Regions from separate parts of the Homo sapiens genome. Here all the other regions are linked to region 1. The links are contacts of gene promoters, found by promoter capture Hi-C in human tissues and cell types (Jung and others, 2019). All regions are on one chromosome and are shown on one strand. The core of a region is centred on a gene start or on the middle of the fragment in contact, and the rest is flanking DNA. Distances in the headings are between cores, read along the strand shown.

What was found. Contacts are between HindIII fragments. The study calls those that stand out against the background at their distance.
Region 2: a fragment that was not itself captured here is called in contact with the fragment with the promoter of POLB in region 1 in 1 of the 25 tissues and cell types used here (adrenal gland).
Region 3: a contact is called between a fragment that was not itself captured here and the fragment with the promoter of POLB in region 1, in 2 of the 25 tissues and cell types used here (hippocampus and neural progenitor cells).
Region 4: a contact is called between a fragment that was not itself captured here and the fragment with the promoter of POLB in region 1, in 1 of the 25 tissues and cell types used here (IMR-90 fibroblasts).

Annotation. Positions count from the first base shown.
Region 1 is chr8:42,335,312-42,341,246 of GRCh38, forward strand. It overlaps POLB (DNA polymerase beta), which reads left to right and starts at 3,183. Exons shown (of 14, transcript NM_002690.3): 1 at 3,183-3,374; 2 at 3,701-3,758. The coding sequence starts at 3,314. The HindIII fragment of the contact is 25,945 bases long and covers 1-5,935 here.
Region 2 is chr8:42,848,161-42,854,095 of GRCh38, forward strand. It overlaps RNF170 (ring finger protein 170), which reads right to left. Exons shown (of 7, transcript NM_030954.4): 7 at 5,141-5,935. Among named protein-coding and RNA genes, the nearest start is that of THAP1, 7.8 kb to the left of the region's middle. The HindIII fragment of the contact is 4,868 bases long and covers 1-4,567 here.
Region 3 is chr8:42,663,242-42,669,176 of GRCh38, forward strand. No RefSeq gene overlaps it. Among named protein-coding and RNA genes, the nearest start is that of CHRNB3, 31 kb to the right of the region's middle. The HindIII fragment of the contact is 8,240 bases long and covers 1-5,935 here.
Region 4 is chr8:42,057,092-42,063,026 of GRCh38, forward strand. The region is part of intron 1 of KAT6A-AS1 (KAT6A antisense RNA 1); the gene reads left to right. Among named protein-coding and RNA genes, the nearest start is that of KAT6A, 8.1 kb to the left of the region's middle. The HindIII fragment of the contact is 3,005 bases long and covers 1,687-4,691 here.

The sequences.
Region 1 (5,935 bases), core at 1,933-4,432:
GGACCTGAATGATGAGAAGAAGGCAGCCAGGGAAAGAACCATACAATGAGGGGACAATGCTGAGCAGGCACATGTATGTATGAAATATGGGCGTGTGTGTGTCCTAAACAATGAGAAAAGTGGCAAGAAATGCAGTAGGAGAGCAGGCAGGAGGTGGATCACATAAGGCCTTGTGGGCCATGAAAAGGAGCTTGGATTTTTTTTTTTTTTTTTTTTTTTTTTTGGAGACTCACTCTTGTTGCCCAGGCTGGAGTGCAGTGGCCCGATCTTGGCTCACTGCAACCTCCACCTCCAGGGTTCAACCTCCCTGCCTCAACTTCCCAAGTAGCTGGGATTACAGGCGCCCACCACCACGCCTGGCTAATTTTTGTATTTTTAGTAGAAATGGGGTTTCACCATGTTGGCCAGGCTGACCTTGAACTCCTGACCTCAGGTGATCCGCCTGCCTCAGCCTCCCAAAGTGCTGGAATTACAGGTGTGAGCCACTGCGCCCCGCCAGGAGCTTGGATTTTATCCTAAGTGCAGTGGGAGGGTGTATAAATAGGGACATATTTTGATACTACATCCTAAAAAGATCACCCTCTGTTTGGGGAATATTCTATAAGAGGACAAGAGCAGAAGCAGGAAGCCCACTGAGGAGGCTTTGGTAACAGTTCAGGAGGTCATGGGAGTTTGATCTAGGGCAGTGGCAGCTCGGGATGAGAGGTCATCCAGTTCAGCACATATTCCTGAGACAGAACAGACAAGGTCTGCTGGCAGACGGGATGTGGGGTGTGAAAAGAGCAATTAAAAATGACTCTTATGGGTTTGGCCTGATAGCAGGGTGGATTAAAATGCTATTAACTGAGATGGGGGAAAGTTAAGGAGAAGCTGGTGGGGCAAGAGTCAGGAGTTCTTTAGGACATTTTATCTTTGAGATGCCTATTATGGACTAGAGCTATCCAGTAGACAGCCTGATGTATGAGACTGGAACTCAAGGGAGAGGTCAAGACTTGAACTATGAGTTTAGGAGACTTTCAAGCTAGACATGCCATTTAAACAGGTAAAACTGGACAAGTTGGAAAAGCTGGTTAGAAGACTGAAGTGTGAAGCCATTTCCCATAAAGGCTGGAGAGTGGAGGAGGAGCTGGGAACCAGTGCTCAGGCGCACATGTGCGCACACACACACCCTGCTGAGGACTGGCCAGTGAGGAAAAAGGAAGCCCAGAGCATGTGGAATCTTAGAAGCCAATTGAAGCAAGTTATTTCAAGAAGAACTTTGTGAAGCAGATCAAATGTCGGTTGTTCTAAGACGATAAGGACAGATAATGGATTATTTTCCTTGGTTTCTCTGGCACTAATTTTAAAAATATAGTATTTGTAAAAATGGGCTAGGTGCAGTGGCTCACGCCTGTAATCTAGCACTTTAATAGGCCAAGGCGGGTGGATCACTTGAGGTCAGGGGTTTGAGACCAGCCTGGCCAACATGGTGAAACCCCATCTCTACTAAAAATACAAAAATTAGCTGGGCATGGTGGCAGGATCCTGTAATCCCAGCTACTCGGGAGGCTGAGGCAGGAGAATCACTTGAACCCGGGAGGCAGAGGTTGCAGTGAGCCGAGATCGTGCCATTGCACTCTGGCCTGCGGGACAAGAGTGAAACTCTGTCTCAAAACAAAAAAATTTGTAAAACTGATCCCACAATTCCCTACATTTGTAACTTTTAAAATTCAGAGGTAAATACATTTTTATTTAAGGAGGAATAATTCTTCAGAGCAAAATAATCTGAATATCACCTGGAATAGAGATTGGACAGAAAAAAGTGTGAACAGGGAAAACTAGGACAAGTCATATATGTAAATGAGAGTATAAAGAGTAAATGAGAGTGGTCACTGCTCACTGCAGCTTAACTAATCAGATAGTTAAGTTGCAGGCATAAAGTTTTTTTAACTTTTATTCCTCAAGTAATAAATTGAGGAAAATACAAATATGTACAAAATTTTTACAAAAGCTATCCATAAAAGGGCAAGTAGTAATATATAGAAAAGATCTACCAGATTAGTAACAAACTACCCCCATTAGGAAAATGGTAAATGATATGAATAGGAAATTCAAAAAAAGAAGAATTACAGATTTCCAATAAGCATAACTTAAGATATACACTGATATTGTAAGGAAACACAATCACCACAACCTTGCTAATCAAAGAAACTAATGATATTTATTGGAAAATAATGGGAATTTTTAATAGACTGGGTTAGAAGACTAGAAGTGTACGTCCCAAAATATTAATAGTTCAGCTGTAGGGTGAGATCACTGATTTTAATTTTCTCCTTTTATACATTTTTCCAGATTTCTCTACAGCAACTACGTATCATTTTGTAATAAATTTTAATTTTTCGATGCACAAAGCAATTGCCTGGAATTGCAGTTCGATATGAACCCAGGAGTTACGCTTGTAAAATAAACTATTGCTGATGTGACATTTCCATTTCTCAAGCAGACTGTAAATTTCTCAGATGTAGGTCATCATGTTATAATTAGGGTTCCATTGCTCATGATCTAGATGAAACACTTCTCCCTTTCTTGTGGTCTCTTCATTAATTTGGTCCCTACCGCAAAGGCAGGGGGATTAAAAATAAAATATCTTTTGACACTGGTTGGCAGGTGTACTAACACGTGTGCGGGAGGATTCCTGTTCTCGGCATGGTTCACGCCGGGCTCCGGCAGCGCCCTAGTACGTAAGGGGCTGCACTGGAGTGTGGACTGCCCGGTATCCTTAGAGAAAGTTTTGACAGTGTGACGCCAGTGTCGCCTCTAACCACGTACAAAACGCGCCATGCATTGGGTAGCTATTACAGTGCACATTTTTGTGCAGGAAGCTACCCCACCAGCGCAAGTATTTCAGAATCAAGATCGCACTCCCGTTTCCCCTTCTAGGGAAAGGATTCCAGATAAACACTGAGAAAACAGATTTAATATCTTAGGTCAAAACTCCAGGTCTTCCCATAGGAAGGCCCCTGGGCTGTCATTCTGAGGTGCCTATTTCCCCCGCGCCGTGTCCACGTCCACGAGTCCACGAACCCTCCGAGTTCTCTCTCCTCACCTGCCGAGGGCTCGCCCCTCTAGCCCCGCCCCGCCCCGCCCAGGACGCGTGACGTCACAACAAGCGCCGTGCGCCCCGCCCCCCATCGGGGGCAACCATTGTTCCGCCGGTCGCGCCGGAGCTGGGTTGCTCCTGCTCCCGTCTCCAAGTCCTGGTACCTCCTTCAAGCTGGGAGAGGGCTCTAGTCCCTGGTTCTGAACACTCTGGGGTTCTCGGGTGCAGGCCGCCATGAGCAAACGGAAGGCGCCGCAGGAGACTCTCAACGGGGGAATCACCGACATGCTCACAGGTTAGCACCGGGCCGGGCCCCGCTGGCTTTCTTCTTTCCTTCCAGCCTCTTCCCCTGCCTTCCTTCTCTCCCACACCGACAGTCCAGTGGGTAGGGTAGGTTCCTTGCAGCGGGTCGTCTTCCGTGGGGATCTCCCTCCGGCGCCCCTGGCTGGTTGTCAGTCCTGCCGGCTACACCTGGGCCATCGCTTGGGCTGCTTTTGGTCTGGCCCTTGGAGGAAACGGGTGGTCACTGTCTCTTAGAGGCTGCCATATCCCCTTCCAGAAAACAGTTCTCGTTTGTTTACTCGTGGTTCTTGTTCACCCGAGCCTTCTGTTGCCTTTCAGAACTCGCAAACTTTGAGAAGAACGTGAGCCAAGCTATCCACAAGTACAATGCTTACAGGTGGGACAGTGCAGCATTCTCGGGTAGCATACGTTCTGGGATACCCTGTTTAGTGTGGCAATTAACAGGACTGAGGGCCCAGTGGATATTTGGTCCATCTGCAAGAGCGGGAAAAAGCAAGAATCGAGGCTGGTACCTTACTATTTCTTGAAGAATGTGGGCAGTGCGTTATAGGATCAGTTCAGATAAGTTCCCAATTCTGATTGCAGATAGCTGTAGCCTGATACGTATTTTGTCATCATCAAACATGAATTACTAGAAATGCGGTGTAATTTTAACCGTAATGAAAGACAGCGGATGAAGTCCATACTGTGAAATATATGTGGTTCAAGGAATCACATTTTTTCTTTTGGTTGGTCTAAAGTTGATCCTGTGGGATCCTGATCCTGATCCTTGTTCCTTGTTCATGGGATCCTGTCCTTGTTCATCTCACCAGGGGCCTTATCCTATTCATTCTTTCCACATCCACCTGCTTCTACTCCTTAGCCTATATTTATTTATTTATTTATTTTTATTTGAGACGGGGTCTCGCTGTGGTATGATCATGGCTCATTGCAGCTTCAACCTTCCAGCCTCAAGTGATCTTCCCATCTCAGCCTCCTGAGTGGCTGGGACTACTACAGGCGCACGCCACCACACCCAGCTAATTTTTTTTTCTTTCTTTTTTTTTCTTTTTTTTTTTGTAGAGACCGGGTTTTGCTATGTTGCCCAGGCTGATCTCCAACTCCTAAACTCAAATGGTCCACACACCTTGGTCTCCCAGAGTGCTGGGATTCCAGGCATCAGCCTCGGTGTCAGCTCTCCTTAGCCTATAAATATGTGCAAGTCCCTCAGCTCTTAAAAGCAAAACCAAAACAATCTTAACTTCCCTCTAGCTAGCACCTTCCCTCTTTTCTCACTTTATGGTGAATCTTCTTGAAAAATCTTCATTCCTTGCCTGGACTTCTTAATACCTAATCATTTACTCAAGAAGTCCCAGTCCTTGCCTGGACCTACCAGTGCTCTGAAAATCCGCTCACCTACGTCTCATCTTATTGGACTCTCTGTGGCATTCACCCCTGGCTCATGCTGTGAATATCTCTTGACTTCTGTAATGGCACTCTTTCTGGTCTTTCATCTCTTCTTCTGTCTTACCTTTTAATGTTGGTATAGGTTGAGCATCCCTAATCTGAAAATTTGAAATGCTCTAAAATCTGGATGATTGCCGACATGATGACACAAGTGGAAAATTCCACATCCGATCTCATGTAGTAGGTGGCAGTCAAAATGGTCAAAACTTTGTTTCATGCACAAAATTATTAAAACGACTATATAAGATTACCTTCAGGGTATGTGCGTAAGGTGTGTGAGAAATATGACTGAATTTTGTATTTAGACTTGTATCTCCCATATCCCTAAGATATCTTATTATGTATACGCAAATATTCCAAACCCTGAAAAAAATTCAAAATCTGAAACAATGCTGGTCCCAGGCATTTCAGATAAGGGATAGTTAACCTGTGGTTCCGGGGAGTCTGCCTGCCCTTAGCCCTCTTTTCTTACTTCTGTAGTTTCCCTGGCAATCTTGCCATTCTTGACTTTGAAATGCCACTTATGTCAGTGACTCCAAATCTGTGTATCACTGGACTTTTTTCCACATTTTTAGCCCTATACTGTCTTTATCCCAAGTCAGCTCCCTTCTTCCATTCCCACTCCACACAGTTCAGAGCTGATTGTGCTCCCTCCTTTCCTTACTTCTGTGACTTCCTCTGTAAAGTAAAATAATTGTATTATCATCCATACATTTGATGATTCAAAATTACAGAGATATTCAACTTTGTATTCTATTTGGATCACAGCAGGTCTCAGAAAGGAGGTGTTTAGTTTGAAGAAGCTCATCGGGATAAGTGAGAGGGCCAGCAGTCTAGACAAATAAAATGTGCCAAAGCATTGAGACATGAAGGGTATAACGTTTTCTGGAAGTCAGATGTTCAGTTTGCTTAACGGGTATGGTATGAGTGGGAAATAAGTCTGGAAAAGCAGGTGATTCCCTACCACTCCTGCATGCTCCTCCCTACCCCAGTAGACATTTCTGTTGATTGTGGCCAAAGTATTCTTTTGAAAATAGTTATCTGATCTTGTCAGTCAAATAATTAAATAATATTTTCTCTTTACCTTGATAAAACCCAAATACATCA
Region 2 (5,935 bases), core at 884-3,383, 510 kb after region 1:
GCTTCTCCATCAGCACTTGCTGCTTCACTTTGCACTTTTATATTATGGAGATGGCTTCTTGTCTTAAACCTCCTGAACCGACCTCTGCTAGCTTACAACTTTGTTCTGCAGTTTCCTCACCTCTCTCAGCCTTCACAAAATTGAACAGAGTTGGGGGGGATTTGGTTTAAGGGAAGACCATTTAAACTTTTTTTCTTTTGAGACTGAGTCTCGCTCTGTAGCCCAGGCTGGAGTGCAGTGGCGCAATCTCTGCTCACTGCAACCCCCACCTCCCAGGTTAAAGCGATTCTCCTGCCTCAGCCACCCATGTAGCTGGGATTATAGGCGCGCACCACCACACCCAGCTAATTTTTATATTTTTAGTAGAGACTGGGTTTCACCATGTAGGCCAGGCTGGTCTCGAACTCCTGACCTGAAGTGATCCTCCCACTTTGGCTTCCCAAAGTGCTGGGATTACAGGTGTGAGCCATGGCACCCAGCCCATTTAAACTTTCTCCATATCAGCATTAAGGCTGCTTAGCTTTTTTATTATTCGTGTGTTCACTGGAATAGCACTTCTAATTTCCTTCAAGAATTTTTCCTTTATGCCAGGCACGTTTGCTCACACCTGTAATCCCAGCACTTTGGGAGGCTGAGGTGGGCGGATCACGAGGTCAGGAGATCGAGACCATCCTGGCTAACACAGTGCAACCCCATCTCTACTAAAAATACAAAAAAAAAAAAAAAAAACCCAAAAAATTAGCTGGGCATGGTGGTGGGCACCTGTAGTTCCAGCTACTCAGGAGGCTGAGGCAGGAGAATGGCATGAACCCGGGAGGCGGAGGTTGCAGTGAGCCAAGATAGCGCCACTGCACTCCAGCCTGGGCGACAGAGTGAGACTCTGTCTCAAAAAAAAAATTTTTTTTCCTTTACATTCACAACTTGGCTGTTTGGCACAAGAGGCCTAGCTCTCAGCCTGTCGTGCCTTTCAACATGCCTTCCTCACTACACTTGATCATTTCTACCTTATGATTGAAAGTAAGAATCTTAGCAAGGACTTAGTGGGCATTGGTATGGTTACTAATTGGCCTAATTTCAATGTTGTTGTGTCTCAGGCAATAGGGAGGCCCAAGGAGAGCGAGAGAGACTAGGGAATGGCCAGTCAGTGGTGAGTGAGAACACATACAACTTGTATCAATTAAGCTCACCATAAGTGGGTGCGGTTTGTAGCACTCCAAAACAAAGATCAGTAGTAACATTAAAGATCACTGATCACGGATCACCATAACAGCTATAATAATAATGAGAAAGTTTGCAATATTGCGAGAATTACCAAAATGTGACAGAGACATGACTTGAGTACGTGCTGCTGGAAAAATGGTGCCAATGGACTTGCTCGAAGCCGCGATGCCACAAACATTCAATTTGTAAAAAGTACAATATCTGCAAAAATCAATAAAGCAAATTACAATAAAATGAGGTCTGCCATTACCAAAATGCCAGAATAGTAGTTTATTAGCATTACCATGGATATTGAGACTGCTGGGAATATCTCTGAGGTCCTCTGTGCCTGTGTCTGATAAAGGTCAGAATGGATAACATTGTGAACTGAGAAAGTGTATTTCAACTTAGAGTTCCCTGATATTGTTTTCTCATTCATTGATTCAACAAATAGTTACTGACTATGCTGCACGCATAGTTCTGGGGGCTTGGGATATGTCAGTGAAGGAGATTTCTGCCCTCAGGGAGCTAATGTTCTCAAAGACATTAGGGAGGCAGATAGCAAACACGTGACCACAGAGTATGTTAGCCGGTGAGAGGTGCTCTGTGGGCTGAGGGAGTTGCAAGTTTCCTTATGGTGGACAGGACAGGCCTAACAGAGGAAATGGCTATTGTGCGAAGATCTGGAGTTGGTGAGAGTTGGCTGTGAGGATGCCCGGCGGAGGAGCCTAGCAGTCAGAGGGACTGGCCAGGGCAGAGCTCCTGAGGCTGGGCGTCTTCAGCCTGCTCAAAGGACAGCAAGGAGGGCTGGATGGCTGGAGCAGAGTGAGCTGTGGGGACAAATGTGAGATGAGGTTAGAGAGGAAATGAGCAACCAAGGTCACATGGGGCCTTGCAGGCTGGCGTGAGGACTTTACCTTTACTCTGTGGGAAAGGGAGAGCAGGCTTTCCAGCAGAGTCACACTTGAGATGATCATCGGGCTGCGTTGCATGTAGGGAGCCAGGCACTTGGTGCCTGGGAGACTGCCTGGAAGGTCGCTGTGATCCTTTAGGTGAGAAGTGAGGGTGGCTTAGACCTGGGCGGCAGCCATGACTGAGTAAGAAGTGATCTTTCCTTGTCTTCTGCCCTTTCCTGTCTTTCCCTTGCTTTATTTATTAATCTTTAATGTGTTGAGCACTACTGTGGTGGCAGGCATAATGGTACATCTGTGAATATCTGGGTGGACAAAACTAACATTGTCTCTGTTTTCATAGAGCTTGTGTTCTAGTGAGAAGCAGACAGACAATGGAAATGTCAATATGATGATGCTGTGCTGAGATGTCTGAATGCCTCAGAGTGCCCTGGGGTAAGGGGAGGGGAGGGTCACTGCCTACTTTTGCACTACTTTTGCACTGCCTACTTTTGGGTAGTCTGAGTGAGGAGGGAACATTTAACCTGAGAACCAAAGGATGGAAACACAGTCTAGTAACGTGAAGCATAAACGTGGTGAGGCTGAAGGGAGCATTCGGTCATGGGGTATATGCTGAGGCCCTGACCTGCATCCGACTGTACAGGCAGGAGAGTTCTGTGTGTCCAGGCATGCAACAGCCTCTTGATGGGTCTGCTCACTTGCACGGCTGCTCTTCTCTGATGAACCCTACACACGGTAGTCAGAATGACCTTTTAAAAATGTTTGTTAGATCATGTCTTCCCACTGCACGTAAATCCAAATCAACAGCCTTCCTGCTTCTTCAACCTCACTTCATGCCCTCCTTCCAGCTCCCTGGGCTCTACCACCACAGCCCCCATTGGGCTCCTGGACACACAGAACTCTCCTTGGACTGCGGTGGTGGCAGAGGGTATAGAGTGATAGGATTCGACATGTCAATGGTAGAAATGCCAGGGCTTGTTGATAGATGGTTATAAGAGTAAGAGAGGAGGCTGGGTGCAGTGGCTCACACCTGTAATCTCAGCAATTTGGGAGGCCGGGACTGGCGGATTACCTGAGATCAGGAGTTCCAGACCAGCCTGGCCAGGGTTTAGTAGAAACCCTGTCTCTACTAAAAATAGAAAAATTAGTTGGGTGTGGTGGTGGGCATCTGTAGTCCCAGCTACTCGGGAGACTGAGGCAGGAGAATCGCTTGAGCCCAGGAAGCGGAGGTTGCAGTGAGCCGAGATTGTGCCATTGCACTCCAGCCTGGGTGACAGAGTGAGACTCCGTCTCAAAAAAAAAAAAAAAAGAAAGAAAAAGAAAGAACAAGAGAAGGATTCAGATATTAACACCGAATTAAGCTTGCACCTCTGGCTTGAGCATTTTGAGATGGGATCTCCTGTCACTCAGGCTGGACTGCAGTGGTGCAACCCACAAGGCTCACCACAGCCTTCACTTCTGGGCCCAAGTGATCCTCCCACTTCAGCTCTGGAGTAGCTAGGACCACAGGCATGCACCACCACGTCTGGCTAATTTTATTTGTAGAGACGGGGGTCTCACTATGTTGCTCAGACTGGTCTCAAACTCCTGGACTCAAGTGATCCTCCTGCCTCGGACTCCCAAAGTGCTGGGATGATAGGTGTGAGCCACCACACTGTCCTCGCTTGAGCATTTAAATGGATGGATGGTGGTTCCTTTTACTGAGAGTCAAACGGCCTTTAATAAAAAGAAGGGAGCTATTTCTGCCAGCAAAGTAAAGGCCTTGGCAGGGGAGAAGTGGTTTAGGAAAACTAGGTTGTCACCTGGGAGGTGCAGGAATATCAGAAGAGAATGAACGTTTAAGACAGTTCAGAGAAGCTGGGGGCACAAGCCACTCAAGCAGCACCCAAGGATCACCTGCCAGCAGGGTGCCCTCTTGGTGTCTATGATCATTAATCCATCTAGAATGAAACTGGTCAATGTGGTGTCCCTCAGCCAAGTTCTCTTCCTTGTTCCCTTTTCTTGTTTCCTGTCTTCCAGTGATCCATAACTTGGAAATGAAATATATACTTTTATTACCTGTTGAATATAATCCTTATATTTCCTTATTTCAAAGTGGTAAACTTATCATTGGTATGGTGAATTACATATAATTTATTTATTCATTTATTTTTTTTTAATTTTTGAGATGGAGTCTCACTCTGTCACCCAGGCTGGAGTGCAATGGCATGATCTCAGCTCACTGCAACCTCTGCCTTCCAGGTTCAAGCGATTCTCCTGTCTCAGCCTCCCAAGTAGCTGGGACTACAGGTGCGTGCCACCACACCTGGCTAATTTTTGTATTTTAGTAGAGACGGGGTTTCACTATGTTGGCCAGGCTGGTCTCAAACTCCTGACCTTGTGATCTGCCCGCCTTGGCCTCCCAAAATGCTGGGATTACAGGTGTGAGCCACTGCGTCCAGCAGAATTTCATATAATTTAAAACAAAATTTGTTGCATTGAACTGAATGTTGAATTTTTCTTTGTAAAACATCTCCGTGACTAAATTTTCACTGTGGTCTGCAAATTAATTTATTTGCTTAATAGAAAAATAATTTTCAGCACTGGGCATGGTGGTTCACACCTGTAATCCCAGCACTTTGGAAGGCTGAGCCTGGGAGTTTTAGACCAGCCTGGGCAACACAGCCAGACCATGTATCTACAAACTTTTTTTTTTTTTTTTTTAATTAGCCAGGTGTGATGGCACACATCTATAGTCCCAGCTACTTGGGAGGCTGAGACAGGAGGATCACTGGAGCCCAGGAATTCGAGGCTGCAGTCAGCTATGATTGTAACACTGCACTCCAACCTGGGCAAGAGTGAGACCCTGTCTCTGACCAAAAAACAAACACACAAACAAAATAAAAAACCTAACAAAATTAATTAGAAATGTGATGAGATATTGGATGTCCATTAGTGATAAAGCCGTTGCAACCATTATACTGAATGCTCTTTCAGGAGTTCTGAAAGCAAACAACTGTTAAATAAACAGAAAAATAACACCTTTAAAATGTTTTAGATATGTTGCTTTTATTCAAAAGAATAAAATGCTTGACAAACTCTTTAATCACAAGGTTTGAACCAAACCACCAGTCTTCTACAACAACTCTGTGAGGTAGGTATCTGCATAGCCACAAGGGATCCACATAGTCCTTTCTTCCCTTGTACCTCTCAAACACTGAGAATTGTAGTAGTTGAAACCACTGTTCTAGTGGGCAGTTAGAACAGTTGTTTTCCCCGTCTTGTTCCCCACAGAGCTGCCCAAGTTATTATCTGCTCCTGGGGTTGGACCATCTGTTTTATGACAGTTATGATATTGTTGTTTAAAAAAAATCCAAATTGTTACTTTGATTTATATGATCTAACTCTGAATCACGGAAGTATTACTATGATGTTCAAAACTCTGATTGACTCTACTTGCTTTAAAAACTCTCAGATCCCTTCTGCATTTATCATCAGAGATCGGTAAAGATGACAACAAGCAGGTCTAAAGTTCTGAGATGTTAGCACATACCCTTTTCACAATTTAGGAAGCTTTAAGATCATTTAGTATTTTTTTATGTTACAAAATTTGGTACAATACACCTCTTTCAGGAAAGTCTTAGTAGTAACTCCAAATATTATAATTATTGTAACCAGAATTGTGACACTTGGAGCAGAATGCATGCACACAAAATAAAATCCTGTCAAAAAATGACATCACCATTCCCCCACACCAAATGTGTAATTGGTAGGAAATGCATTTCCAGTCTGGTACATGGCAGTGTGACAAACTCCTACTCACTCGCTTTTCAAGTTGGTGACTG
Region 3 (5,935 bases), core at 1,253-3,752, 330 kb after region 1:
GAATCTCACTTTATCACCCAGGCTGGAGTGCAGTGGTGCCATCTTGGCCCACTGCAGTCTCCACCTCCCGGGTTCAAGAGATTCTTGTGCCTCAGCCTCCTGAGTAGCTTGGATTACAGGAACCTGCCACCAAGCGTGGCTAATTTTTGTATTTTTAGTAGAGACAGGTTTCACTATATTGGCCAGACTGGTCTTGAACTCTTGACCTCAAGTGATCTATCTGCCCACCTTGGCCTCCCAATGTAATAGTTTATTGAGCACTGTGCTTCATAGATTACACGAATGATCAGGTTGGATTATAACAGCAGCCCCTTCAGAAAACTACTACTTTTCATATCATTTTGAAAATAGGGAAACTAAGGCTCAGAAAGGTAGAATGGCTTACCACACTCTGGAAACAGTGCTCAGTCTGAAGCCCAGGAGTGACTGCTTAGGTGAATATAAGACAATCGCTTTCAGTCTACTCAATTCTGCTCACACAGTTGATTTCTGAAACAGAAGGCTGAACTCTGACCCCTTGACCTTGGGGATGCCTCAGGGAGATGCTACCTGTGAGGCCACTGGAGACCAGGCTCTATTTCATCTCCCTGAAACAACAACTCTGCCTTCTGCAGTTGGGTTGAGGTAGAAGGAGGGACTTGGCTCTGGGGGCAGGGCTGGGACTCCAGACCAGATAGAGAACTGGCTGAGACAGGGAAGAGACGAGGGCACCTCCCCATAAGAAATGCCTATCCATGCCATATCAACTGCCATTGCCATGGCAACACCGGAAGCTATCGTCCCTTTCCATGGTAACAACCTGATGACCTGGAAGTTACCACTCTTTTTCTGGAAGTTTCTGGATAATCATCCCCTTAATTTGGATGTCATTAAAAGTGGGTATAAACGTGATGGCAGAGCTGCCTCTGAACTGCTCCTCCAGGTTCCCTGCCTCAAGGGTAGCCCTGCCTTGCAAGGAGCAGTCCCTCTGCTGCCACCGTACACTGTCACTCCAATAAAAGCTGCGTCTAACACCACCAGCTTACCCTTGAATTCCTTCTGGGGTGAAGCCAAGAACCCTCCCAGGCTAAGCCCCAGTTTTGCAGCTTGCCTGTCTGGCATCAGAGTCAGCCAGGAAAATTCTTTGTATATCCTTCCCCTTAGCGTATCTCATATATTCTCTTCTCTTTGCCTATCTTCACGAGAAAAAATACCTTTCCTCTGCATCTCTCCTTTTTTGTGTTTTTAAGTTGATATATCATAGTTGTACATATTTATGGGGTATGTGTGATGTTTTGATCCCTGCATACAATGGGTAATGATGGAATCTGCATAATTGGGATAGCCATCACCTCAAGCGTTTATCTTTTTCTTTGTTTTGGAAACATTACAAATCTAACTATTTCAAAATATATAATAAATTATTGTTAGCTATAATTTCCCTACTGCACCATTGAATACTAGAACTCATTCCTTCTAACTGTGTTTTTATACCCATGAACCAGCCTCTCTTCATCCCCCCATCTCTGGATCTTTCCACCTCCTCCACCTTGCTCCATCAATCACCTGCTTTGCTTCCATTTTTGGTTTCTTGTTTTCTTCAATCCACAGACATGCTCAAGTCTTCCCACTCTAAAAGAAATTCTTTCCTTAATCCTGCTACTTTCTCAGATGCTGCTCCTACCTCCTTTTCCTGGCAAGATCACCTTTTGCTGATGTAAGCAGAGGTGGCCCCGCTCTGCTGGGAGGCACCCTCCGTATTGAGGAAAAAGCGGTTGGGAAGATGGAGCCCAAGAGGGAATACCTATGGTCAAGAGCATTCATTTACCCGCTACCTTCTGGCTCAATCCATACATGGCTTTGACCCTGACTCATCTTTATAGTCTTCATTGGTGGGTGGGAGGAATCCCAGAAGCTGACATTGACCACACATTCACTCCATCAGTCTGGATTCTGCCCACTCCAGTTTTTGCTGCTTTCAAGACTGGTATCATATACATCAACAAGGTCTGTTGGGAGCATTTTGCTGTGTTGCTTCTCCAAGCAATTCATAGTTTGGTAGAGAAGAAACACCACACCAGAGAGTTCACTTTATTCCAAGTAATAGAGTATTCAAATTAATAATGTTTTCAATATAAGAACATTTATCATCGCAGCATTGTTCACAATAGCCAAAACATGGAATCAACCCAGGTGCCCATCAGTGGTGGATTGGACAAAGGAAATGTAGTACCTATACACCATGGAATACTACACAGCCTTTTAAAAGAGTAAAATCATATCCTTTGCAGCAACATGGATGCAGCTAGAGGCCACTATCCTAAGCAAATTAACTCAGGAACAGAAAAACCAAATACTGCATGTTCTCACTCCTAAGTGGGAGGTAAGCATTGGGTACTCATGGACATAAAGATATGAACGATAGACACTGGGGTCACCTGGAGCAGGAAGAAGGAGGGGACAAGGGCTGAAAAAATAACTATTGGGTACTATGCTCACTATCTGGGTGGTGGGATCACTCATACCCCCAAACCTCAATGTCACACAGTATACCCATGTAAGAAACGCCTGAATCTAAAATAAAAGTTGAAATAATTTTTAAAAAATATAAAAGGATTTATTGTTTACTTAACAATGAGTCTAGGCTGCTTAGAGCTTGTTTAGTAGCTCAGCAATGGCATCAAGGATCAGGTGACTTCAAACACCCTGAGTGTGTTGACATCTCGTCCTCATGCTTGCTGACTCCTGGTCACAGAGTGGCTGCAGCTGTTCCAAGCACCACAGCCTCACACTGCACCCACAGCAGGAAGCAGCAAGGAAGGATGTGGGCAGAAAAGGGCTTTCTTTTTAGCAGACAGGAAAAACATCTTCGCAGAAGGTCCCCCATAGTTTCATTGGCCAGAACTCAGACATGGCCCTGAGTCTCAGTTTCACTTTTTTCTCTGGCCTCCCAAACAAGAGCATTTCTCTGAATTCTTCAGTCAAACTTAAGAGGTCTTCTGTGTGTCCTCTCCGCCTCATGTCTACCCCCATCACAAAACCTAATGCTTTTCATAGCACCAGATGCCTTCCATTTATTCTTTTTTTTTGTAGAAGGAGTCTCGCTCTGTCGCCCAGGCTGGAGTGCAGTGGCACGATCTCGGCTCACTGAAACCTCTGCTTCCCAGGTTCAAGCGATTCTTCTGCATCAGCCTCCCGAGTATCTGGGACTACAGGCACGCCCAGCTAATGTTTTGTATTTTTAGTAGAGATGGGGTTTCACCATGTTAGCCAGGATGGTCTCGATTTCCTGACCTCATGATCCGCCCGCCTCAGCCTCCCAAAATGCTGGGATTACAGGCTTGAGCCACCACGCCTGGCACACCTAATGCCTTTCTTCCTCAATAAATGCCACCTTTTCATCTTTTTATCTCCCTGGTTCTTGTAGCTTATAGGCACTTACACATGCATTTCTGAATGAATGAGTAAGAAAGGAAGGGAGGAGGGGAAAGACTCTATCCCAAGTGCTCCTCTTTTTCTTTTTCTTCTGTTTCTGTTCTGCCGGGGACATTATCTGTTTTCACAGCTTCAGCCCTGACATGCCTTCCAGTCTGAAGTCTTGCGTTTTTGACTCCTGCTGGAGTTGGGAAGCTCAAATTCAACACATGTAAAATGGAACTTATCATCTTCCATCAAAAATAAAGCTTCTGAAATGGAAATAATATTTTTGGAAATATGTCAGTTGCTTTTCTCTATTGCAGTCCCGTGTTTGATTTCTGGCCGTTCCTCTGCCTCTGGGAGGGTTAGGATTGTTGCAGAAGGAATGCAAGGAGGAGGAGGAGAATGTTCAGCTTTGGATACGCAGAGTAGGTTTTCAATAACAATCGCTTATCATGGAAAATTCCAAATATATCCAAAAATAGACAGAAGGGTACAATGATTTCTCATGTACTCACCACCCAGCTTCACTAGTTATCAAGCCATGATGAATTCATCCATATAACTCACCTACTACTACTATAAAGAAATCATTTAATATCCAACCTGTGTTCAAATTTTCCTTATTTCCTTATTGTTTTACAATTTGTTTGAATCGTGATCCAATTAAGATTTTTTTTAATTTTTTTTTTTTAATGGAGTCTCCCTCTGTTACCCAGGCTGGAGTGCAGTGGTGCAATCTCAGCTCACTGCAACATCCACCTCCCGGGTTCAAGCAATTCTCCTGCCTCAGCCTCTGAAGTAGCTGGGATTACAGGTATGCACCACCAGGCCTGGCTAATTTTTGTATTTTTAGTTGAGATGGGGTTTCACCATGTTGGTCAGGCTGGTCTTGAACTCCTGACCTCAGGTGATTCCCCCACCTCGGCCTCCCAAAATGCTGGGATTACAGGCAAGAGCCACTGAGCTTGGCTAATCTGATTAAGAGCTATACGTTGAAATTTGTTGATATGTTTCCTGTTTTTCAAAAAACTATTGGTTCCCTTTTATTACTCTTTTTCCTTGCAATTGATTGTTGAAGAAACCTGGAGTTTCTCACAGGCTGGTTTTTGCAGATCACGCCCCTAAGGGGTGGTTTACGTATCACTCTGTCCACTGTATTTTCTGTTAGTTGGTGGTTAAATTTAGAGCTGTTCAGATTCAGGTTTGAAGTTTTTGGCAAAGAGGCACATAATGTTTGGTGATGTTAGCAGCTGTTTGTGACCATTGCCTAGAACGATAAAGTAGACGTTGCAAATTTATGATATTTTATTATTCCTTCTTCATTTATTAGATAGCCTACTTCTTTTTTGTTTTTTCTTTTTTTGAGATGGAGTCTTGCTCTGTCACCCAAGCTGGAGTGCAGTGGCACGATCTCTGCTCACTGCAACCTCCGCCTCCCGGGTTCAAGCGATTCTCCTGCCTCAGCTTCCTGAGTAGCTGAGATTATAGGTGCGCGCCACCACACCCAGCTAATTTTTGTATTTTTAGTAGAGATGAGGTTTCACTGTGTTGGTCAGGCTGGTCTCGAACTGCTGACCTTGTGATCCGCCTGCCACGGCCTCCCAAAGTGCTGGGATTACAGGTGTGAGCCACCGCGCCCTGCCTAGGTAGACTAATTCTTTAAATAAAAAACTTCTCTCATCAACTCTTTGGTTATGATCAGGTATAATTTTATGAGGGAAGCTGGGCAAATGAATTCCACCCCCTGCTCCATGGTTCTTTCTAGTAGGAAATGATACCATGGTTCCTTTTAGTAGTAAATTATATTTATTTGTTTATTTATTTAGAGACGGAGTTTCACTCTTGTCGCCGAGGCTGGAGTGCAGTGGCGTGATCTTGGCTCACTGCAACCTCCACCTCCTGGGTTCAAGTGATTCTCCTGCCTCAGCCTCCTGAGTAGATGGGATTACAGGCACACACCATCACATCCCGCTAATCTTTGAATTTTTAGTAGAGACGGGGTTTCACCATGTTGGTCAGGCTAGTCTCAAACTCCTGACCTCACGTGATTCGCCTGCCTCGGCCTCCTAAAGTGCTGGGACTACAGGCATGAGCAACCGCGCCTGCCTGGAAATGCTATTTAAATATTACAGTCTGGATGGTAGGACAGCTTAGGGATGGTTGCTGTTTGTAGGGCTTTTCAGTGGATGGTATTAAGAAACACATTTTTCAAAGATAAAATACGCAATGAATTCATTCATTAATAGATTCAGATAAGTTGAAGTCAAATTCAGGACTACATTGTCCTTCCTTAGGCCTTTCAGTCTCACACCTGTGTCTCCTTTCTCCCATGCCCAAATCCTGGTTCTCAATGACACTGTGATAATTACTAGTTTGCTTCATCTCACACCCCGTATACACCAATCTCAAAATAATAATACCAACACTATTATCAAGATGAAGACTGAAAAGTTTTTTTTTTTTCATTTTTGTAGTTCTTTTTGTCCTTAGGATCTATTTCACTATGGATATATGATCAAATTTCTATGAATTAACA
Region 4 (5,935 bases), core at 1,939-4,438, 280 kb before region 1:
AAAAATGTCTGAACAAGGCTCTGCTTGAGGTATCAAGATATGGTTTACAACACTCTCAGTGTATCAGAATCATCTCAGTACTTTTTAATAAGTAAAAGAGTCCAGAATTCCACACCAGACCTACTAGATCCGAATTTCTGAGAGATTAATTTGGCTCTGTATTTTAAAATGCTTTCCAGGTATGAACATTTGCTCTGACAACAATTGAGTCATGGGGACTGGATTTATCCTTCCCTCTTAAACATCTGGAAAAAAAATAATAATGGTTTTCTGACAAAATATATGAAACAATGGTTTTTAGACATTGGACAATAGACAGTGTAGGACAGTGATTAAGGTAAGAGAAGTAAACAAGTTGAGCCATCTAATTGCCCCAGCCTACTGCCTTGCAACAGTTTCCAGACCATGGGACAGGCAGTGGCAGAGCCCAAAGCCCAGCAATACTGCTGACTTGAGGAGACAAATATCAGGCTTCAGGGAGGCCGACGTAGCTAAAGTTTGGAGGACAGAGAACCAGAAAGGGGAAAGCTACATATGTATATACAACTCCAAATATCTACAGAGGGGTCCTTTTGCTTCTTTGGATGAGCATTGATTTGCACATATTTAAGAAGAGACTAATTGGAAACTAATTGGGAAAACAAACCACCAAAAAAGGGCAGGAAAAACAATTCCCAGAGCTCCCATATGAATGGAAATTGTGCCTGTTTTCACCAGCCGAATGGAAAGACCTATCTGTACATTTTGTCCTTAGTCCTCAGGAGGGTGTCATCTTGGTACTGAAAATGAATTTGCCTATATTAAAAGGAGCGTGGGAGATTTGAAGAAATAATGGCTGAAATAGTCCCAAATTTAATAAAAACTATAAACCCACAAATTCAAGGCATTCAAAGAACACGAAGCAGAATAAAAAATTGTAACCACAACAAGGCACATTATAGTAAAATTGCTGAAACCAGGCGAAAGTCTTAATATCAGCCAGAAAAAAAAGATAATACACAGGAAAGAACAAAGATAGGAATTACATTAGACTTGTTATTAGAAACTATTCAACCAAGAAAAAAAGTCTTCAGATTGCTGAAAGATTTTTAAAAATCAACCTAGAGTTCTTTACTCAGCAAAAATGTCTTTCAGAAATGGAAGAGAAAAATGTTTCAGACAAAAAAAAAAAAAAGCGGCTGGGCGCAGTGGCTCACACCTGTAATCCCAACACTTTGGGAGGCTGAGGCAGGCGGATCGCCTGAAGTCAGGGGTTCAAGACCAGCCTCTCCAACATGGTGAAACCCTGTTTCTACTAAAAATAGAAAACATTAGCCGAGCAGGATGGCGCACACCTGTAGTCCTAGCTACTTGGGAGGCTGAGGCAAGAGAACCGCTTGAACCTGGGAGGCAGAGGTTGTAGTGAGCCAAGATCACCCCGTTGCATTCCAGCCTGGGTAACAGTGTGAGATTCTGTCTCAAAAAAAAAAAAAAGAAAGAAAGAAAGAAAAAAGCAACTGGGTGCGGTGGCTCACACCTGTAATCCCAGCACGATAAGAGCCCAAGGGAGGAGGATCGCTTGAACCAGGAGTTCAAGACCAGCCTAGGCAACGTAGTGAGACCCCCATCTCTATCAAAAAAAAAAAAATTGAAAAATAGCTGGGTGTGGTGGCGCATGCCTGTAATTCCAGCTACTTGAGAGGCTGAGGTGGGAGGTTTGCTTGAGCCTAGGTCAAGGCTTCAGTGAGCCATGATTGTGCCACTGCACTCCAGCCTGAGTGACAGAGCAAGAACTTGTCTCAAAAAAAAAAAAAAAAAAAAAGGAAAAAAGAAAGGAAGGGAGGGAGGGAGGGAGGGGGAGAGGGGAGAGCAGGAAAGAATAAAGCTAAGATAGTTTATCATGAGAAAACATGAACTTCCAGAGCAAGACCTTGTCAGAAAGAAAGAGAAGAGAGAGAAAGAGAGAGAGAAAGAAAGAAAGAAAAGAAAGAAAGAGCTAAGATAGTTTATCACTAGCAAACATGAACTTCCAGAAATATTGAAGATACTTCTTCAAAAATAATGGGAAAGGATACTAGACTGAAATTTTGATTTGTAGATAAATGTTAAGAACTCTGTAATTGTGAAATGTGTGGATAAGTACAATTTTTTTATTTATAAGATTATTGTGTAAGGCAAATTAATAACAATGTATTATGGGGTTTAAAACTTATGTAATAGTAAAATGGATAATAGGGAGAATATGGAGAAATGGGAATAGTGGTTACAAAGTTTTACACTGTATGTATAGTGGCAAATTATCATTTGAAGGTAGACTGTAGTAAGCTAAAGATGCATATTGTAAACCTTGCAACAACCACTAAAAGTAATAATAAAACTAAAGTAGAGCTACTAGGCCAATCGTGGAAATAAAAGAGTCACAAAAATACTCAATTTAGAAGAAAACAGGAAAAGAAGAAAAAAAAGGAGTAAAAACCAGATTAGACAAATAGAAAACTATAGCAAGATGATACACTTAAACTCAACTATATTGATAATTGTATTAAATATAAGTGGTCTAAACATCAAACTAAGAGGCAGAGATTATCAGATTGTATATAAAAGCAAGAGCAAAATATGTGCTGTTTGTAGGAACACATTTTAGATAAACACAAATATGTTAAATGCAAAAGAATGAAAAATACATGCCAGGCAAACACGAACCAAAAGAATGATGGAGTGACAGTATTACTATCAAACAGACAGATTTCAGAACAGGGAATATTACCAGGAATAAAGATTAATATTTCAGAATGATAAGAGAGTCAATTTATCAAATAGACACAATAATCCAAAATGCTTATGGAACAAATAACAGGCCTACAAAATGCTGAATCAAAAACTGAGAGCCACCAGGGCACGGTGGCTCACGCCTGTAATCCCAGCACTTTGGGAGGCCAAGGTGGGCTGATCACGAGGTCAGGTGTTTGAGACCAACCTGACCAACATGGTGAAACCCCATCTCTACTAAAAATACAAAAATTAGCCAGGCGTGGTGGTGCATGCCTATAATCCCAGCTACTCAGGAGGCTGAGGCAGGAGAATCGCTTGAACCCAGGAGGCAGAGGTTGCAGTAAGCCGAGATTGCACTACTGCACTCAAGCCTGGGTGACAGAGGGAGACTCTGTCTCAATAAATAAATAAATAAATAAATAAATAAATAAATAATAAAAATACTGAGCGCCTAAAGGAAAAATAGAGAAATCCACAATTAAAGTTTAAGATTTCAACACTATGCTAATAATTGAGGTTTTTAAGTAGAAAGAAAAGGAGTAATGCTTGAGCAATATTGTCGATTAACTTGAGCTACTTGTTTATAGGACATTGTACCCAACAGCAAAAGAATCCATGTACTCTGCCAGTGTGCAGAAAATATTCACCAAGATAGACTATGTTCTGTGTTGTAAAATAAATTTTGATAAATTTAAGAGATTAGAATTATATTAAGTGTGATTGCTGATCAAAATGAAATTAGTCTGGAAAACCAAATATTTGCAAATCAAACAACATGAGTCAAACAGAAAATGACAAGAGAAGTTAGAAAACTTCTAAAACAGATGTTCAAGAAATTTGAACAGATGTTTCATTGAATGCACATAAAAAGAAACATATCAAAACTATGGAATACAGCTAAATCTATACCTAGAGAGAAATTTAAATGGTCATATTAGAAGAGATGTCTCAAATCCATTAACTAAGCATCTACTCAAAAAAACTGGAGAAAAAAAGAACAAGCCACATAATAAGTAGAAAGGAGGAAATAATGAAGAGCACCAATCAATGAAATGGAAAGCAGAAAAGCAATAGAGAAAATCAATGAAACCAAAAGACTTCTTTGAAAAGCTTAATAAAATTGATAAAGTTCTAAGAAGATTGACTAGGAAAACAGAAAATATAAATTAACAATATGAGGAATGAAAAAACATAACTATAGACTCTAAGTGCATTAAAAAAACAAGGAATATTGTGAACAACTTTATGGCAATATGTTTAAGAACTTAGATTGAATGAAAAAAATTCCTTGGAAGACAATGTACTAAAAGTCACATAAGAATAAGTAGACGATTTGAATAATCCTGTATCTATAAGAATGACAAAATTTATAGTTAAAAGTCAGGCACAGATTATTTCACTGACAAATTCTACCAAACAGTAAATAAATAAAACGAATTTTACACAAATTCTTCTAGAAATTTGAAGAGAAGGGAATATTCCCCAATTCACTTTATGAAGTTAGCATTACTCTCATTCCAAAAGCAGACAAAGGCATTCCAAGAAAACGGATGTCCTTCATGAACATGACCAGCTGGCTTTGTCCTAGGAATGCAAGGCTGCTTTAACATTTGAAAATCAATCAATGTAATTCATCACATTGACAAACTAAAAAGGGAAACTCATATGATTATCTCGATGAAGAGAGAAGCATTTGACAAAATCCATCTATTCCTGATAAAAATATGAGCAAATTAGAAATAGGAAGGAACTTCCTCAAAATGATAAAAGAAATCTCAAAAAACCTGCAATTAACATGGTACTTAATGATGAAAGACAAATACTTTCCCTCTAAGACATGATCATAGCAAAGATATCTGTTGTCACCACTTCTCTAGTCAACATGGTACTATAGTTTCTAGGCAGAACAGTAAGGAAAGAAAATAAAAAGGCATCCAAATTGGAAAGAAAGAAAGCTATCTTTGTTCACAGATGACATGATCGAATATCTAAAATATCCTACAAACAACTGCTAGAATTAATAGGTTTATCAAGGTTGCAGGATATAAGATCAATATACGGCCAGGCATCGTGGCTCATGCCTGTAATCCCAGCACTTTGGGAGCCGGAGGCGGGCGGATCACGAGGTCAGGAGATCGAGACCATCCTGGCCAACATGATGAAACCCCGTCTCTACTAAGAGAAAAAACTAGTTGGGCGTGGTGGTGCACACCTGTAGTCCCAGCTACTTGGGAGTCTGAGGCTGGGGAATCGCTTGAACCCAGGAGGTGGAGATTGCAGTGTGCCGAGGTCACACCACTGCACTCCAGCCTCCAGCCTGGCAACAGAGTGAGACTCCGTCTCAAAACAAACAAACAAACAAACAAAAAACAAGAAGTGGGCTGGACGCGGTGGCTCACGCCTGTAATCCCAGCACTTTGGGAGGCCGAGGCGGGTGGATCATGAGGTCAGGAGATCGAGACCATCCTGGCTAACACGGTGAAACCCCATCTCTACTAAAGATACAAAAAAATTAGCCAGGAGTGGTGGTGGGCGCCTGTGGTCCCAGCTGCTCGGGAGGCTGAGGCAGGAGAATGGCATGAACCCGGGCAGCGGAGCTTGTAGTGAGCCGAGATCATGCCACTGCACTCCAGCTTGGGTGACAGAGCAAGACTCTGTCTCAAAAAAAAAAAAAACAAGAAGTGTTGGTAAGCATGTGGAAAAATTGGAGTCCTTGTGTAGTGTTGTTAAGAATATAAAATGGTGCAGCCACTGTGGAAAACAGTATAAAGCTTCCTCAAAAGTGAAAAATAGAATTACCATAAGATCTAGCAATCTCACTTCTGGATATATATACAAAAGAATTGAAAACAGGCCAGGCGCGGTGGCTCACACCTATAATCCCAGACTTTGGGAGGCCAAAGCGGGCGGATCACCTGAGGTCAGGAGTTGGAGACCAGCCTGGCCAACATGGCGAAACCCTGTCTCTACTAAAAATGCAAAAATTAGCTGGGCGTGGTGGCGCAAGCCTGTAATGCCAGCTACTTGGGAGCCTGAGGCAGGAGAATTTCTTGAACCTGGAGGGCAGAGGTTACAGTGAGCCGAGATTGCACCACTACACTCCAGCCTGGGCAACAAAGAGTGAGACTCCGTCTCAAAAAAAAAAAAATTGAAAACAGAATCTTGAAGAGATGTTTGTATACCC